Linked DNA regions of Homo sapiens: region 1 is linked to region 2. Evidence: promoter capture Hi-C in 16 types of primary human blood cells and fetal thymus (Javierre and others, 2016). All regions are on one chromosome and are shown on one strand. Each heading gives the region's core, a stretch centred on a gene start or on the middle of the fragment in contact. The rest is flanking DNA. Distances are from core to core; before and after follow the strand shown. Region 1 has its middle 2.6 kb from the start of LINC02944. Region 2 holds the start of KCNK18 (potassium two pore domain channel subfamily K member 18).

Region 1 (4,663 bases), core at 584-3,083, 1.0 Mb before region 2:
GCTGTTGTATTTACGCATCACCGTTAATAAACATTAGCACTTAAAGCTGAATTAAGGCACATCGTTAAATGTCAGTGTGTATCTACCCACTTATCTACGAATGTTTCAACAAACATCTATTAAGTGTCTACTACTATGTGCGAAATGTGACTCGTTCTTCTAAAATACTGAAAGGACGTTTTATTACCAGAAAGTAATACAAGTATCAGAAAATAAAGACATTTTACGTTGCACAGTTGGGTCATTGATATAATGTTAAAATTAAATACATTAGCTCTTTCTTAGCTGAGGTTTTGTTTTCTGTGGTTTCATTTACCTGTGGTCAGTTGTGGCCCCAAAAAATTAAATGGAAAATTTCAGAAATAATTCATAAGTTTTAAATTGCATGCCATTCTCAGTTGCATGCTGAAATCTCTCATCCTCTGTCCCACCTGGGAGGGGAATCTTCTCTTTGTCCAGCATATCCACACTGTCTAAGCTACCTTCCTGTCAGTCACACGGTAGCCATCTCAGTTATCACATAGACTGTCACCGTTTCCCAGTGCTTGTGTTCAAGTAACCCTCATTTTGTTATATAATGGCCTCAAAGCATGAGAGTAATGATGCTGGCAATTTGCATATGCCAAAAAAGAAGCCATAAAATGCATCCTTGAAGTGAAAAGGTGAAAGTTATCAGCTTAATAAGGAAAGAAAAAAATTGTATGCTGACATCTTTAAGATCTACAGTAAGAAGGAAACTTCTACCCACGAATTGTGATCAATTAGTTGTAAACACCACTGCACTTGGACCAGCTTACCCATGAATGGTAAGGAAAAAAAGAAATTCATGCATAGTATATGTAGGGTTTGGTACTATTGCAGTTTCAGGCATCCACTGGGGTCTTGGAAGAATGTATCCCCCATAGATAAGGGGGGAAGTTGTATGCTCCTGGAATTTCAGAAGCTTCTCCTTTTTTTTTTTTTTGAGACAGAGTTTCGCTCTTTTTGCCCAGGCTGGAGTGCAATGGCACGATCTTGGCTCACTGCAACCTCCGCCTCCCAGGTTCAAGAGATTCTCCTGCCTCAGCCCCCTGAGTAGCTGTGATTACAGGCATGTGCCACAAAGCCCGGCTATTTTTGTGTTTTTAATAGAGACGGGGTTTCTCCATGTTGGTCAGGCTGGTCTTGAACTCCTAACCTCAGGTGATCCGCCCACCTTGGCCTCCCAAAGTGCTGGGATTACAGGCGTGAGCCACTGCACCCGGCCCAGAAGCTTCTTTTCTTGATATAGAATAAATCTGAATGTCAGGGGGAAAAATCACATGAAACACCTTGCAAATTATCTTTCCCCTTATAGCAAAATATGATTCTCCTTGCCTTAAAGAATGTAAATTCCTATAAAGAAAATAAATTAATAAAACATACAAGTCCTATAGTGGAATCACTTTTTCTTTCATGTCCATTGTCACCGAGTATAGAAATGAGGTATTTTATTACATAATTTTTACAAATCCGTATTAAGACAAACCTTAATAGGAATGACTTTATCACAAAGTGTTCAGAAAGACATGAGAAAACATCCCCAAAAGTTAGTTCCATATCTGTGGAGAAAATGAAGCAATCTCTAAGATCATTTCCACTTTTAAAAGTCAGCGGTTTTAAAAAAACTAGTGGCATTTGAGTTATTTCACCCTTCTCAAAATAGGTGTGATATTTCTTCTAAGCCAATCTCTAACTGAAAGAAAAGAATGGTCTCATTTTTAGAATTACTGGCTGTTTGTTTGAACTGAAGAATTAGTTGCATTTCAAAATAAGGACATGCCTAATGAAATGATTAAAACATACAGAACATTAAATTATAAGCAGATGGGGGTGAAACCAAGGGAGGGGGGAGGTGAGTTTGCTGGAAACCTGAAGTCCAGGGAAGCTGACAGCTTTGGGTTTTCCTCAATAACACAGAAGATGATTGTTTAAGCAACAGAGGGTAAGAAAACAACCTTTGGAAGACAATCTCTCTCTCTCTCTCTCTCTCTCTCTCTCTCTCTCCTGTCTCTTTTTTGATAGGCAGCACCTTACAAGAAAAGCCAGAAAAGAAAACCCGTGTGTATTGTAAGAGTTTAAAGAGACAGCCACTCCAAAAGAAAATGGACATTCACATTGACGCCTGGAAAAGAACCAGGAGTCACCATGCAAATGTGTCATAGCAGCGAGAAGTCCTGTGAAAGCGAAGGAGATCAGCCAGGCTCCCGTGAGTCACGGTTCAGGATTCAGATCTTCATCTTCCTAAGACACTGATCTCACTGGTCCCAGTTATTCCTGAAACGCTGTCCCTCCTCCGTTTTCCCTGAAATTTATCAATTAAAGTACGGCTCTGTATAGGTAAAAGATAAGAGTTTGATGAGACAGAGTTTACAACAGCTAAAAAAGAAGCTTAGTGGATGGGAGTGGTTCACAGATGGTGCAAATTGTCTGCTAAGTGGCACTTTATGGATGGGCAGAATCCATGAGAGTTTTATCTTGAATTTCTATCAGGCTGCATTCAGCAGAAGCTGGTTCCCTGGAAATTGGCATTTTAAAAAAAATCTCTGTCGTGTGTCTATCTTTCCTGGATATACAATGGCAGTTTCGACCCATTCGAGCTGGCTTCCTGAACAGTGGCAGCGATTGTCTCTGAGTGTGGGTTAATGGATGTAGGTCTAGAGATAAAGGAAATAAACCCTCTAAGATGTTGTCTAATTTTTAAAAGGCATCTCGCCTTCCTCAGCTGTGTATCTTCTTTGTCTTAGATGTCTGCAAGGGAGAGGACAGCATCACTGCAGTGACTGTGGCTTGCACCCAGGGCCAGGGCCAGGCTCCAAGTGAGGGCGAGGGTCACCTTTAGAATGGAAATCGTTTCTTGCTTTAATAGCAGAAAGAACACCCTGGACATGAGTCGGTGTGTGTGCACACACGCACACAACACACACAGACACACACACATACACACACACAACACACATACACACACACACAACACACAGACACACACACAACACACACACACAACACACAGACACACACAACACGCACAGACACACACACACACAACACACATACACACACATACACACACAACACACACAGACACACACATACACACACAACACAGACACACACATATACACACAACACGCACAGACACACAGACACACACACACATACACACACACACACACATTCTTCCCATGAAGGAATTGTCTGCTCTCATTCTCTTTCAGGTAAGACCCCTCTCCCCATTCATCTAAGCTCCTCCGTGTGTCCACCGAACTATATCACATCAGCACTTCCACATCTGTCCTCATGGCACTGAGCACTTCTCTGGAAACTGACCAGTTATTGCAGAGCCTTGTTTCCCCAGCATCATCCTCCAAGAGAAGGTACAAGCTATTGATCTCGCTCTACCTCATGCCTAATTAAAATTCTCAGAGCCATCTCTTCCAGGTAGCAATGGCTATGTGTTCAGGAATTGAAGGATGGGTCTCCTTCCCAGATGATTTGCCCCATTTACCAGGCAGGTCGGGGTTCAATGGAATGCTTAGCTGCACCAATCACACTGGCAGATTAGGGAATAGTGTTGCTCCCTCCTACCTTCCCCACCCAATCACAATATGATCTTAAACTTTTCTCTTTAACCTTTAAGGTTCGTTGAATATGTCCTAATGTAAGCCTCTTTCAGTCTTTGGAAAGAAAATGGGCCATAAATATATACATTTAACACTTGTATATAAAAAAGTATAAGTAGCATCTACTGAAATTCCACCTTTAGGGATGCACTCTTTGGAGACTTGAAGGTATTCTCATCGCTTTATGAGAAAAGAACGTGCTTGGGGAGGTTATCACCCGAAACCTTTCTTTATGAGCTACTGACCAGAGTGGAAGCTGGGGGACCAGAGGCTGGAAGGGACAGGAAATTACTTAGCAGCCAATCAAAAGCAAAGCTGATCAAGGCGTTATGAGGAGATAAGACAGAACTGACCAAGGTGGGGCCTGGGGTGGGGAGAGTTGGAGATGGGGAGGAGTCAAAGGCACATGTGAGCCACTCTCTGTACCCATGTGACCCACACACTTTCCTGGTCTCTCCAGGATCCTACAGGAACAAAGGGATGCCTGTGGCTCTGCAACTGGATTGGAAGGAGCCAAAATTCTCCTGATTTGAGTTTCTGGTTCTGCTGCAGTCAGTCACACGTCCACAAAGACCTCAAATTTATGTCCTCTAAAAACTCATTGAGTAGTTGCCATCATCATCACGGTCTTCATCATGGTGGTAGAAGTTAACGGGAGCAAGTCACTCGCATTATGCCATTGAGACCTCCCCATCGCCCTGTGAAGTAAGCACCGTGTTCACCCCAAGCTCTGGTTGGAGCAGCAGTTGGAGCATAATAAGAGCTCCAGGAAGGGCAGTCACGGCGGCATTCTGTGCGCAGCACTTGCATGGGAACAGTCCCTTGAAAGGGAAAATAAAAAGCTCTATGGCCTTCTAGGTGCTAAGGAGTGATTAATCCACACTAGTCCATTGAGCACCTATTCCATGTCCTTGTGGAAAACACGGGGATGCTGGGTTTGTAGGCGAGGCTATACCTGGCATGCTATGTTGGGCATGTAAAGGTTTGCCAAGTCAGCTGATGGGGGTCTTGGAAGTGTGGAT
Region 2 (4,928 bases), core at 1,126-3,625:
TAGACTTGTTCGGCTTTAAGAGAATGGCACTGAACCTGGCATGCAGCAGGAAGTCTCTACTCCTTTTAATTGGCACCAGCCTGGGAGTCTACACACATCGATTCTAGACCCAGCTCTAACCCTGATAAGTTCTGTAACTGTGGACAAGAGGCTGCTTTCTGAGCCTCAGTTTCCCCATCAGAGAGACAGCCTGAGATGGTGGTGAAAGGTTCAGGCTCTGGAATCCAGATACATGGGTTTAAGTCCCTGGTTCCATTTTTCTAGTTTGTGAACTTGGACAAATTGCTTAACCTCCCAAGGCCTCAATTTCCTAATCTGTAAAAGAAGGACAACTTTTTGTTGTTTTCTTGTGAGGCTTCTTGTGAGGATTAGGTGAGATAATGTGTGAAGTGTTTGCCACAGGGTCTACATGCAACTAACCCTTATGGAACATTTTAATCTCCAGTGAAAATCGGTACAAAATGGAGTGGGACCAGCTCTGTGTTCCCATACCCTGCTGTGCATTGGAATCACCTGATAAACTTTATTTTTACTTATTTATTTTTGAGACATCTCTGGCTCTGTCATCCAGGCTGGAGTGCAATGGCACAATCACGGCTCACTGTAGCCTCAAACTCGTAGGCTCAAGCAATCCTCCTGCCTCAGCCTCCCAAGTAGCTGGGACTACAAGTGCACGCCACCTCATCTGACTAAATTTTTTAATTTTTTATAGAGACAGGGTCTCACCTTGTTGCCCAGGCCTAGTCTCAAACTCCTGGCCTCAAATGATTCTCCCACCTTGGCCTCCCAAAATGCTAGGATTATGGGCATGAGCCACCATGCTTGGCCTTATCCTTGAAACTTTAAGATTCCCAGCCCAGCCCTGGAGATCCTGATTAAGTGGGTTTGGAGAAGAGCCTGGGGATGTGTACTCTAGGCAGTCTCCCTGGTTGATTCTGATGTGTTGCTGGCTTAGAGAGCCTTGAACTTGCTGGTAGTCTAGGCCCTGCGATGGTGCAGTGTCCCTTTGGCAGCAATCTCCCAGGTCCACTGAGCAGGCTGGCGTCTGTCTGGCAAGGATGCAGGGAGTGGGACCCTCCACAGACAGGAGACTCTGCCTCCCTGGACTGGCCTCTTGTCTCTGGGAGCTGCACCTGTTCCCAAATCAAGGTCTGGGCTGTGGAAGGAGCCCCCACACCAGAGTGGGAGGGGAGGGGCTCCCTGCACCCCATTCTTCTCCTGACTTTTAGTGTCTGGTTTTCCTTTGTTTTTCATTTATCTACTCTCCCTTGTTTTATCTTGCTCTGTTGAATACAATAACAAGCTTCCTTCGAGGAACACAGCAGAGTAGAAACAAGTGACTAAATATGAAGAAAATGCAATGAGGACACTATAAAGTGACTTCTGTCTTCCAAGAGCCAGAATGTTCCTTGTCTCCTCTGCTTCTCACAGGGTCCCTGTGACCACCAAGTCTGAGATTGGGGGTCCCCTTCTCTCCCGCAGACTGAGACCCAGAGAGAACAAAGCTTTGCCTCCACGGATTGCAGAGCAAGCTGGGAGAGCAGCCAGGACAACAGCCAGGACCCCCACCCCTCCCCCCAGGTCTTCTCACAACACCTCCCCACTCCGCTGAGCCAGACAGCAGAAAAGGAGTTTGAAACAGGAAGTGGGGGCGTGGGTGGCAGGTGCTCCTGCTGGAATTTAAATCCAATTTGGGTTGTTCCCTAAATTCTCATCCCTGCAAACTGAATCCTGGGTCAGGCAGACATAGTTCTGAAAAGCAAGCTAGCCCCCCAACCCCAGCCCCAGATTTGCTCACCCATGCACCCCACCCCACCAAATTCCCAGTAATCCATCGTCCCCTGAGGCCACTGGTCTGGATGGGGCTGGGTGCTGAGGCACAGGAAGGGGAGCTGGTCTTTCCTGAGCACCTCAGGGTGCTCAGGGCCTTTCCTGCATTCTTCACAGCAACCCTGAGAGGCAGTTAGTCTCCCCACTTTTCAGAGGAGAAAACAGAGGTTCAGAAAGAAGTTACTCGCTTAAAGTGCCCAGGCATGAGGAGGATCCAGGCAGGCAGCTCCCAGACCCAGCCTCCTAGAAGGCAGCCCTCTGCTCTTGGGGGACTGCTGCCACCACGGAGAAAAGGCCCACCCTGTCCAGGTGAGGCACCTACCTGTTTCACTGCAGTTCAAGATTCTGCAGAGCTCCTCCAAGAACTTCTCAAACTCTCCATCATCTGCTGCCACCAGGACCTGGCCGTCCTCAATGGCAGAGAAGACCACAGCACCCACCAGGGCGTAGGTCACCAGAAAGCAGAGGAAGCAGAGGCCAGGGAAGAGCTTTCCCAGGGCCTCTGGGCAGCATCTCCTGGCCTGGGGGTGCCCCGAGACCTCCATCGTCCCTGAAGCATGCAGGGCAAGAGGAGCTGGTGGAAGAGGCAGGAGCATCTAAGCCCCGCCAGGAAGATGGGGTAGGAGTGCCCGGAGAACAGCCAGGCTCCAGTGCTAAGTGGATGGTGCGTGTGCTTCCCCAAGGACTCAGGAAGCAGCCGGCAACTCATCATGTTCAGTTCTTCCGAACTACTCAGATGGCGCCCTCCCTAGCACCCCAGATTGCTATTGATCCGCTGGGCCGGCCCTGGAGCTGCCTGGAAGGGGCTTTGGGAGGATAGTGTGGTTGTTGTTTTGTGCTACGTTTAATCTTTTCTATGCCCAAACTGCAGTTTTGAATTGCAGATCCCAAACCTGATCTTTGGCGTTTAGTCAAGTGATTCTTTCCTGAGAGCTGTCTGTGACACAACTTGGCTTAGGGTACCTGGTCTTCTGGACAGGTGATAATAGTAGTAACCTATAATAGTAACAGTAACCATAGTAACTAATGCGGCCAGAGCTCAATGGTTTCCAAAGGACCTTTATCCTGTGTGGATCTAATTATTGGTCCCAATTCTTCACTCCCCTGCTGCATACCCCCCCTTGCTGGGGCCTCACGGTGGGCAGAGTGTACTTCCTTGAACTTGGCTTTAGGGTAGGTCATCTCACTTGCTCCAGACAGCTGGGCATTAGCAGATGTGATGCAAGCAGGGGCTAGGCCTGTGCTTGTGCATTTGGACTTGCTTAGCTATGCCTGTGTCTGCCATGAGAAAAGGTGCCCCACCTTTCAATTTTCAGCTCAGAGTAGACCAATGTGCAACTTTCTTTGGTGGTCCTGAATCCAGGTTCATCCAACACCACCTACCTCCACCATACAGCCTAAGTTTGACCCCAACGAGATTAAAGTCTGAGATGCACCGGGAATGATGTTGGTGCCACATCTGTGCTGGCCCCTAAGATCAAACCCCTGTGTCTGTCTCCAAAACACATTGGTAATGACATCGTTAGGGCAACCGGTGATTTGAAGGATCTGAGGATTACAGTGAAACCATTCAGAACAGGCAGGCATAGATTGAGGTAGTACCTTCTGCCTCTGCCCTGATCATCAAAGCCCTCAAGGAACCTCCAGGAGACAGAAAGAAACAGAAAAACATTAAACCCAATGAAAATATCATTTGATGAGAATGTCAACATTGCCTGACAGATGCAGCTCCAATCTTTAGTTAGGGAACTCTCTGGAACAATTAAAAAGATCCCGGGGACTGCACCATCTGTGGGCTGCAATGTTGATGGTCACCACCCTCATGACATCAACAGTGGTGCAGTGGAATGCTCAGCTTGTTAAGCACAAAGGAAAATATTTCAATAAAGGATCATTTGACAACCAGTGGGGATAAAAAGTGCCTCAGATGGCAGCTGTGGAGATGCATGCAGGTTCAGATCCCTCTTCTAGAAAGGACTCGCTGTGCAGCTTTGATGAGCATGGTTCATGACAGCCCCTTTTGTTCTCTGAGGGTTTGCCACCGGTTTCAAGCCCTCTTCTTGGAGAAGCCTGTGCCCACTGACTAAGCAAGGTGGGGACCCAAGGGCCTATTCATTTCTGCCCAATACAGGACTCCTCCAACTTGAGCCTGTTCCAGAGTGGCCCTTTGGTCTACAGAGAGAACTTGTCAGTCTGTGTTATGATCCAGAGGCTTTCCCTGTTCCATCTGCTTCCTTCATTTTCATTTTACAAGTCTTCCCAAAAAAGCTTTTGCAATTGTGACTCTATCTTGGTGTCTGCTTCCCAGAGGATTCAACAGTAGTTGGCACCAGAAGTGGTCTGAGAAAGCCTGCTCAAAAAGCTAAGATGGGGGTCGGGCACAGTGGCTTGCACCTCTAATCCCAGCATTTTGGGAGGCTGAGGAGAGCGGATTGCTTGCGGCCAGGAGTTTGAGACCAGCCTGGCCAACATGGTGAAACCCTGTCTCTACTAAAAATACAAAAACTAGCCAGGCATGGTGGTGCATGCCTGTAATCCCAGCTACGCTTGGAGGCTGAGGCACAAGAATTGCTTGAACCTGGGAGGCGGAGGTTGAAATGAGCTGACATCACACCACTGTAGTCCAGGATGAACAACAGAGTGAGACTCTGTCTCAAAAAAAAAGAAAGCTAAGATGGGGTTTGAGGACTGGGTCCCTTAATACCCAAGTGGTAAGGAGATGGTGTACAGGCAGCCTTTAGTGCAAGGTGGCTGCCCAACTATTAAACTTGTCACCAGCAGTGAGCTGGGATGGCATGTTGACTGGTGCAATGACTCGCATTCGAAACATATTGAAGGAGCGATAAACACAAGATCAATAAGTTTGGATGGCTATTATAAAGTTGCATTGACCCCCTGCAGGCAAGCTTAGAAGAAGGAGGTTCGTAAAACAAACAGCCCGTTACTGCCACCAGTCTCAAGGCTGCAACTGACACTCATCATCTCCTTCCTTCACTATCCATTCTAATTTTTCCTTGCCCTCTGCTACCTCTTCTACTGGTCTCAATGGCTTACCTGATGGCATGACCCTAATCCTCATCCCGGTGGGAGGGGGGTGC

The links. Contacts are between HindIII fragments. The CHiCAGO score rates a contact against its expected background, and 5 or more counts as called.
Region 1: a contact is called between a fragment that was not itself captured here and the fragment with the promoter of KCNK18 in region 2, in 2 of 17 cell types (naive B cells and non-activated CD4 T cells). The highest score is 6.3, in naive B cells.

What each region holds. Positions count from the first base shown.
Region 1 is chr10:118,236,583-118,241,245 of GRCh38, reverse strand. No RefSeq gene overlaps it. Among named protein-coding and RNA genes, the nearest start is that of LINC02944, 2.6 kb to the left of the region's middle. The HindIII fragment of the contact is 1,157 bases long and covers 1,255-2,411 here.
Region 2 is chr10:117,194,936-117,199,863 of GRCh38, reverse strand. It overlaps KCNK18 (potassium two pore domain channel subfamily K member 18), which reads right to left and starts at 2,375. Exons shown (of 3, transcript NM_181840.1): 1 at 2,153-2,375. The coding sequence starts at 2,375. It also overlaps the pseudogene RPL12P26. The HindIII fragment of the contact is 2,593 bases long and covers 1,508-4,100 here.